Regions from separate parts of the Homo sapiens genome. Here all the other regions are linked to region 3. The links are contacts of gene promoters, found by promoter capture Hi-C in blood cells and fetal thymus (Javierre and others, 2016). All regions are on one chromosome and are shown on one strand. Each heading gives the region's core, a stretch centred on a gene start or on the middle of the fragment in contact. The rest is flanking DNA. Distances are from core to core; before and after follow the strand shown.

The links. The method cuts DNA at HindIII sites, captures the fragments that hold promoters and counts their contacts. A CHiCAGO score of 5 or more calls a contact.
Region 1: a contact is called between a fragment that was not itself captured here and the fragment with the promoter of PDXK in region 3, in 1 of 17 cell types (M1 macrophages). The highest score is 5.2, in M1 macrophages.
Region 2: the fragment with the promoter of CRYAA here is called in contact with the fragment with the promoter of PDXK in region 3 in 5 of 17 cell types (naive CD4 T cells, total CD8 T cells, M1 macrophages and 2 more); the score reaches 6.3 in naive CD4 T cells.

Annotation. Positions count from the first base shown.
Region 1 is chr21:43,126,925-43,129,624 of GRCh38, reverse strand. The region is part of intron 3 of LOC101928369 (a long non-coding RNA gene); the gene reads right to left. Among named protein-coding and RNA genes, the nearest start is that of FRGCA, 13 kb to the left of the region's middle. The HindIII fragment of the contact is 1,089 bases long and covers 828-1,916 here.
Region 2 is chr21:43,167,741-43,170,440 of GRCh38, reverse strand. CRYAA (crystallin alpha A) reads right to left here and starts at 1,433. Exons shown (of 3, transcript NM_000394.4): 1 at 1,153-1,433. The coding sequence starts at 1,341. All of the region lies in intron 1 of LOC107987300 (a long non-coding RNA gene), which reads left to right. The HindIII fragment of the contact is 23,635 bases long and covers 1-2,700 here.
Region 3 is chr21:43,717,731-43,720,430 of GRCh38, reverse strand. It overlaps PDXK (pyridoxal kinase), which reads right to left and starts at 1,302. Exons shown (of 11, transcript NM_003681.5): 1 at 1,050-1,302. The coding sequence starts at 1,136. LOC124905032 (a long non-coding RNA gene) reads left to right here and starts at 1,883. Exons shown (of 2, transcript XR_007067896.1): 1 at 1,883-2,216. RefSeq lists silencers at 314-503, 661-970, 1,011-1,800 and enhancers at 1-609, 1,951-2,000. The HindIII fragment of the contact is 18,691 bases long and covers 1-2,700 here.

The DNA of each region.
Region 1 (2,700 bases), core at 123-2,622, 590 kb after region 3:
ATTCCAGCTTCTTTCATAACCAACAAACCACTCCTTGGCATACAGTGACTACTTCATTGCCAATTCCGTTCCATCCATTCCTGGTCAAGATCTCTCTCCCTACACCACACCCCACTGACCCTGTGTTTTCCATATTTCAATGGCTCTTGGTAATCACAATTATTATAAATTTTCAACTGTTTGTCTTTTTTTTAATAGAGAGGGGATCTTGCTATGTTGGCCAGGTTGGTCTTGAACTCTTGACCTCAAGCAATCCTCCCACCTCAGCCTCCCAAAGTGCTAGGATTATAAGCATGAGCCACCACGCACAGCCCAACTGCTTGTCTTTTGATGGCTTCCCAACATCACTGATGCTTTCTGCACTATTGACAAAGAGAGTGTTTCCATGTGTCCTTCCCACAGTGAGCACTGGGTACATGCTACCCTTTTTGTATGAATTCACAGTGCAATTAAACCCATGGTCACAAAAAGACAAATGCATTTTAAAAATTAAAACATATACATTGTCAGCAACCAGCAGAGGTGCCTGTAACAGAGGGAGTGTTGGGATGCTGCCAACACCTTGGGTCAGGTCAGCTTTTGCAAATTTTGGCACCAAGTTTACAGAAAAAAAAAAAAAGTCCTTTTCATTTTCACAGCTTTTTGCTTTTTGGAATGCTGACAAGGGCCTGTGGGTCTGTTCCATCATGGAATCAGGATGAAAAGACAGAATTGGAGTCCTCAAAGCAACCCCAGTCTAGTAGGACAGAGATGTCAACACCGCATTAGAGCATCATTCAACAAGGGCAGTTTCTGATGCCTCATGGGCACCTACTAAGTGCCAAGCTTCGTCCACTCCTCAAAGGCAGGTTGGCTGATCCTATTAGCCAATGGAAACCCTGAGTCTAGAGAACTTCATAATGCAGGTCATGCAGCAGGAAGTGGCAAAGCAGGATAGCAGATCCAGGTCTGTTCAACCTTTGCAGGTAAGGAGGGGAAGCTGTTGAGAACCCAAAATGCATTGCACATCTGGGAGGGGGATGACTCCAAGGAGGCCTCAAGGGCCAAACTGGAATGCTGGGAAGGAGGGAGTGGGCATGGGTCCTGGAAGAACACACTGTGCACAGGCAGGAGGCTCCCACGACCAAGAGCTGAAAGTTGCCCGGCACATTCCAGGGACTGGGAGCCATGGAGGGTTCCCAGTAAGAAACAGCAGGATCGAATCTGTATTTCCCACAGAGCCCTCTGGCAGAAGGACAAATGGTCACCTAGAAAAGGAGGAAACAGCATAGATACTGCTGTAGTGATCCAGGTACACTCAGGAATGGCCAAGAGGAGGAAAAGGAGCAGACATGGTTGAGAGAAGCCAAGGAATTAGAATGGATGTGAATCAGACAACTTAGGGCAACCCAGGTGGGCTCAGGCTATAGATGACTGGCATTTACTAAATGCTTGAACAGAACGTCAAGAGATGGGAGGAGAAGGATAAAATGAAGTCAGCTGGAGATATGTTGAGCTGAGGTGCCTGGCACACTTCTAAGTGGAGATCTGTCTTCCGAATTTGTGTCTGTGCACCTGCCACAGTATCTGACACATCAGACATGCCCCCCAAAATATAAGATGGATGGACGGACAGATGGATGGATGGATAGATGGATGAATGACTCAGTGGGATGGATAGATGGATGGATGAATGGATGAATAAATGGGTGGGTGAAAGGACAGATGGATGGATGGATGGATGTCTGGGTGAGTGGATGGATGGATGGATGGATGGACGGACTAACAGACAAATGGGTGGATGGCTAGATGAGCGGATTGGTGGGTGAAAGGACAGACATATGAATGAACAGATGAAGGGAGGAATGAATTCTCGACTTTAAATAATGAGATTTAGAAAATATGATTAAGTACAAAGTTTATTCAAGCCCAAAGCTTAAGGATGGCCACCTGGGAGCCTAGATTCAAGTTCCCCTGAATAGATGCTCCAATTAGCAGCAGTGGGTTCTTTTTTTTTTTTTTTTTTTGAGACAGGGTCTCACTCTGTCACCCAGTCTGGAGTGCAGTGGTGTGATCACAGCTTACTGCAGCCTCAACCTCCCAGATTCAAGCAATCCTCTCTCCTCAGCCTGCCTCAGTAGCTGGGACCACAGGCACATGCCCTTATGCTTGGATAATTTTTTAAAATTTTTTATAAAGACAGGCTCTCACTATGTTGTCTCAAACAAAAACAAAACAAAAAGCCCCACTCTCCTGTCTCTCTGGGCCTGATAACTTTGGCACACCTCACATAGCTCAGACTGCTCTGTGCTATTTTTTTCCCCATTTCTCCCCTTTTCATCAAGACCTTTCAAAGAAGGCCTCATAGAAAAATGCAAATTGTTTTGGCTCCCTTTATGTTCAGGAGCTTAGTCCTGAGTTGCTAGGAAGGTTAATTATCAGATGGCCTTGTCCCATGTAGGGGAGGGGAGATGTATTAAGCCATTCTTGCATTGCTATAGAGAAATAACCAGCTGGCTGCACTGGCTCGCGCCTGTAATCACAACACTTTGGGAGGCCGAGGTGGGCAGATGGCTTGAGCCCAGGAGTTTGAGACCAGCCTGGGCAGCATGACAAAACCTCACCTTTACTAAAAATTCAAAAAAAATTAGCCAGGCATGGTGGTACATGCCTGTAGTCTCAGTCACTCGGGAGGCTGAGGTGGGAGAATCACCTGAGCCT
Region 2 (2,700 bases), core at 184-2,683, 550 kb after region 3:
CCGGTTATCAGAACAGAGATGCTTCGGTCACCTGCCGGCCTCTTCTCCCACACACCAAGTGGGGCAGAGCTTTCGGGGGCCTGTGACTGTCTCCTGGACAGACAGGCATGACCCTCGACCTGTCTCCAAACCCTCAGGGCCAGCTGAGGGGCTGAATGCTACTGGTGGGCCGGCTGGTTGTTTGGCTATGGTCAGGTGGCTGGTTATAGATAAGTTGGCTGGTTATGGGCTGGCTGGCTACTGGTTATGGTAGGAGGGGTCGTTACGGGTTGGTTGGTCCGTTAGGGTCAATCGTCTGGCTGGTGATGCTTGGCTGGCTGGCTGGACTCAGCCTGTGGAATGAGGTCACTGCCCTTGGTGTCATGCTGTCTATAGAAGCGGCCGGAGCCTGCTGACAGCCTGCGCAGCTGCCTCTCCAAAACGCACTTCCACATGCTCCTTCTCACTCCCCTGGCTCAGCCTTGGCTCCCTGAGGCATTTTGCACCCTGGCGTTGATGCCTACTGCAGCAGCCCTGGGGAGGACCCTGTTTATGAGGTGCTGGGTGGGACTCAGGCCCTCCAGAACAGCAGAACCTGCACCGCTCACCCGTGGCTCAGAGAGGAGGCCTGTGGTTGGGTGGGGGGGGGGGCGTCCATTGCCTGTCCTTTTAGCCTTGGCAGGGCACCTAAGTAAACTTGCCAAGAGCTTTGCTAGCCGTGGGCAGGCCGAGCTCATTGGAGGAGGTGCTAGGAACGCCCTGCTCTCTGGCTTTCAGGACTATGACCCCCACCTGCTCCCAGGTCTCCGGGACTCAGGAGACCAGAGGAACCCGGGAGCTGGCATTCGCCACCACGCATGCCTGGATGGGCTGCTCTTGGGGTTTCCAGTATGTGGCTGGTGCCTTACAAAGCACACATGGGTCATGAGCTGATGGAGGAAAGCAAAGGTGGATTCAGGCTGCTCCCTTGTCCACCCTCTCCCCAGTGCCAGGGGAAGCTCTGCCACGTGGCTGCAGTGGGGACACAGGCTCTCGCCCAGCCTCTGCAAGGGGATGAAGTGGGACGAGGCCACCTGCCTGACGGAGCAAGACCAGAGTCCATCGCTCTCCACCCACCGAGGCCACCACCCTCTGAGCAGCGAGGAGAGGCCAGCACCACGGGCCACGTCTTACCTCAGAGATGCCGGAGTCCAGCACGGTGCGGAAGAGGGACTGGCGGTAGTAGGGGCTGATGGTGGACGACAGGAAGGGCAGCAGGTCATACTCAAAAAGGCCCTCGCCGAAAAACTGGTCGAACAGCCGGCTGGGGTAGAAGGGCCCCAGGGTGCGCTTGAACCAGGGGTGCTGGATGGTCACGTCCATGTTCAGCTTTGGTACCACGGGGACCTGGAGGCTGGCAGGAGTCAGCGGGGCCTCTGGGCAGCGCAGTGTGGAGCCAAGGCCGAGCCCTCCCTATATATGCCACCAGCAGAATGGAGGCATTAAGGGATTTCTCTGGAAAGGCGTGAGCTCATGAAGAAGGCTGCTCAGTCAGCAGAAACGTGGCTGGGACAAGTGCCCGCCCCCAGCCCCAGGAGGGGCTGCACGGACTGTCCCCGAGGCCTGGACTCAGCTGAGGCCCGCCTGGGCACCCTGGGGCTCCCGGGAGGGCAGACAACCCAAGGAGGCGCCTGTGCCCCATACTCGCCTGGGGCGACAATGGAGCTTCTCATCTGCCAGTCACTGGGCAGGGGCTACGTGCCAGGGACCATGCTAGTTCTCTGCACACCTTGTCCTGCCGGGGTGGTCCTCATGGTCGCCAGAGGAGGGAGAGCACACACCCCCGTTAGACACAGAGGTTAGACACATCGTCCTCAGAGTCTCACCGGGCCTGGGCAAGAGTGCACTGGTTTCCAAAGCGGAGTGCATCTGTGAACCTCCGTTACACTCACCACTTACAAAAGTACGCATGCTTGTTAAAACTCGTGGAGAAGAAGCTGCAAGGTGCCATAATTCCAGCACCTGGGGGAGCCCTATGGCGTTTCATGCTTGTCCTCCAGGGGTCACATGCCTCCAACAGGAAGACGGGCTGGGCTGTGGGCAGATGAGAGCACCACGTGGTGAGCTTCCCTCTGCGGCCCACCCTGGACGCCCAGCCCCATGGCCATCGTCCCCTCGATGTAACGCCTCGAGCGTTACATCTCGTAATGATGTAATGCCTTGATGTAACATCCCCACGTAACGCCTCGAGCCTCCGTGGCATGACCTGCCGTGGCTGTTGAGTTGGGCTGCTCCTGTCAGGGTGGCGACATGTCCCCACGTCCCTGTCACCCATGCGGACCCACCACCCACATGATCCTGTTATCCACAAGTCCTGGTGATTATTTTGCTCCTCGACCCATGGCCCCTGTCCAGTTCTCACTAAGTGTCCAGGCACTCCCGGTTTTGTTTGTTTGTTTTTGAGATGGAGTCTTGCTGTGTCACCCAGAGTGGCGCCCAGATCATATAGTGGCGCGATCTCAGCTCACTGCAACCTCTGCCTCCCAGGTTCAAACAATTCTCCCACCTCAGCCTCCTGAGTAGCTGAGACTGCAGGTGCCTGCCACCACACCTGGCTAATTATTATTATTATTATTATTATTATTATTTTTGTATTTTTAGTAGAGACAGGGTTTCACCGTGTTGGCCAGGCTGGTCTCAAACTCTTGACCTCAGGTGACCCACCTGCCTTGGCCTCTCAAA
Region 3 (2,700 bases), core at 53-2,552:
TCCACTGAAGCTCTGCTCCCCTCTTCCTGTCCTCCTCCCAGGCCAGCCCGCACCGCAGGCCCCGCCGTGCCCAGGTGGCCCTTCTTTACATCCCGTGGGGCCCAGCACAGGGACCAGGCATACCTGCTCCCGTCCCCAGTGACCAGGCCGCAGGTGGGCAGCACAGGAGAGCACGACCCGGCAGGGCACCCCCAGCCCTCCTGCTGACTCGACAAGGCCAGGAAGTGCCCGTCGTCCTGGTTCTGCCTCGGCCCTGCGTGACACCCACGCCACTGCACCCAGGCCTCTCCTACCCCTCCACGGGCCACTTAGCTGCAACCAGGAGGCCGTGGGCCAACGCGTTTTAAAAGCTGGCTCCCTAAAGCCAATCCGCACAGTCCCGAACTGCTCTCTGGGGCTTCTCCTCGTCAGAGCAAACACCTGCAGGGATGCCGCTCTGCTAGAGGGTGCAGAGCAGCCCCTGCCCCACCCTCTTCCCTTCGGCCACCTCCTGGCGTGGTCAGGCCGAGGGGAATCCACCCTCGTGGGCACCGTGACCTCACTCGGCGTCTTCTTCCTGACTTCCCCACGCACAGGGGCCCAGGAGGTGAGCGCGCGAGCGTCTCGAGCTCCACGGCCGCTTCTGCGTTCCAGCGGGGCAAGGTCCCGGCTCGCGTGACTGCTCCGGGACTCCTCGGGGCTCTGCGACATTTCCTCGCCTCCGGGAGCCGCACCGCCCGCCCGCCCCCGCGGCAGTTGGCCCGGTCGGCGGGAAGGGGCGAGGACGAGCGGCTGCGCCATAGCTGGTGCACAGGGCTCCCTCCTACCCGCGTACCCCGACGCCGGACCCGTCCCACCCGCAGGGGCCCGCAGAGCGCTCAGCCCTCCGCTTCCGCCCCCGCAAGCCAAGCAGAGCGGGAGGCTCATCCCGCGCCTGCCTCCAGGGCGCCCGCGCCAGGCTCTGCCCGCAGCTCCCGAGCCTCCCTCGGGGAACTGAGGCTCGTCTCGGGCAGCCCCGCCAAGGTCACGGGCTCGGGTTACGTAAGCCCGGGCTGCGGGCGGATGCGTACCTGCAGCGGGAACGTGGCCGCCCGGTTGCCCACGTAGCCGCGGATGACGTGGCTCTGTATGGAGAGCACCCGGCACTCCTCCTCCATGCCGGGCCTGGCCGCGGCGGCGCGGGGCCGAGGCGGGGGCACGGTCTCCGCCGCTCGCTCGGGCTCCGGCTCGGCTCGGGCTCGGGCTCCGGCCCCGGCTCCCCTCGGCTGCGACTCTGGCTCTGGCGCGCGGCGGACCCGATCAGCGCAGACGCCTCCTTCTGACCTCAGCGGGCGGCTCCGAACCCGCGAGTTCCGCGCGGCGCCGGGGGCTGGCCGGGGGCGGACCGGGGCGGGGACAGCCACGCAGGCCCCGCCCCCGGGCTGGGAGGAAGCGAAACCGGACCCTGGCCGCGCGGCCGCGCCAGGTGGCCCCCGCCACTCTGCCGCCCGAAACGCTGGGTTTGCACTTTCATTCCGCCTGGAGAGGGCTCTGCAGCGCCGTTCATTCGTTCGTTCATTCATTCATTCAACCATTGTGCTCCGCCTCAGCCCTGCGCCCCGCGCCCCGCGCCCCGCGCCCCGCCGCACGCAGGGGAGACTCGGGGGCCCGGGCTCCACGCCCCTGACCTCCGGGCGCGACACTCTCGCAACGCGGATGGCCACGAGAGTGCGCGCGGGCGTGGGAATAGTGCGGAGGCGCGAAAGTGACCCCGGACCCCGGATACCCAAGGGAACCGCGCTCTCAACTGCCTGCAGGGCCCGGAGCCCGCATCCGATCCGCGTCCCTTCCCAGGGGCCGCGCGGGAGCTGACAGACACGGGGCCGGGGGGACCCAGTCAACTCCGCACCGGCCTGGGGCGGCGGGCTTCTCTGGGGGCGCCCCAGACCCTTGCGGACCCTGAGTGCCCACTCTGGTGGCGCGGCCTGCAGAGGCCCCCAGCCGATGGCCACATGCCCGGCCGTCCATCCACAGGTGCCTGGGTCTGGGCCGCGTGTCCGATCCCACCCCAACCAGGTCTTCCTGTGGAGGGCCTGCCTTCGAGGACGAACCTGACCCCCTGGGGGACCCCACAGCCTTCACTTCCCACCCCTACGCTCTCCACAGCTGACGCACTCCCTGCGGCTTCCCTGCACCACCCCGGGGAACGGAGGCCTTTGGGTTCCAGACTTGCAGACATGGTGATTTGGGGCCCTGGGGTCAGTATCACCAGACTAAAGTCTTGGTGACCTAACACAGCGCACCTAGGGCTCTGTAGCTTGGTGAGACCCAATGCCCGACCAGGCGGGTGCTGAGGACTGAGGGAGGAAGACATTACTTAGAGATCTAGGCTTTTAAAAGAAAGTACTTCATAATTAGTCATAATTGTCCATTAATAATAGCTAACATTGGCCGGGCGCGGTGGCTCACGCCTATAATCCCAGCACTTTGGGAGGCTGAGTTGAGCGGATCAAGAGGTCAGGAGTTCAAGACCAGTCTGGCCAACATAATGAAACCCCATCTCTACTAAAAATACAAAAATTTAGCTGGGTGTGGTGGTGTGCACCTGTAATCCCAGCTACTTGGGAGGCTGAGGCAGGAGAATTGCATGAACCCAGGAGGTGGAGGTTGCAGTGAGCCAAGATCGCGCCATTGCCCTCCAGCCCGGGTGACAGTGAGAGACTCTGTCTCAAAAAAATAATA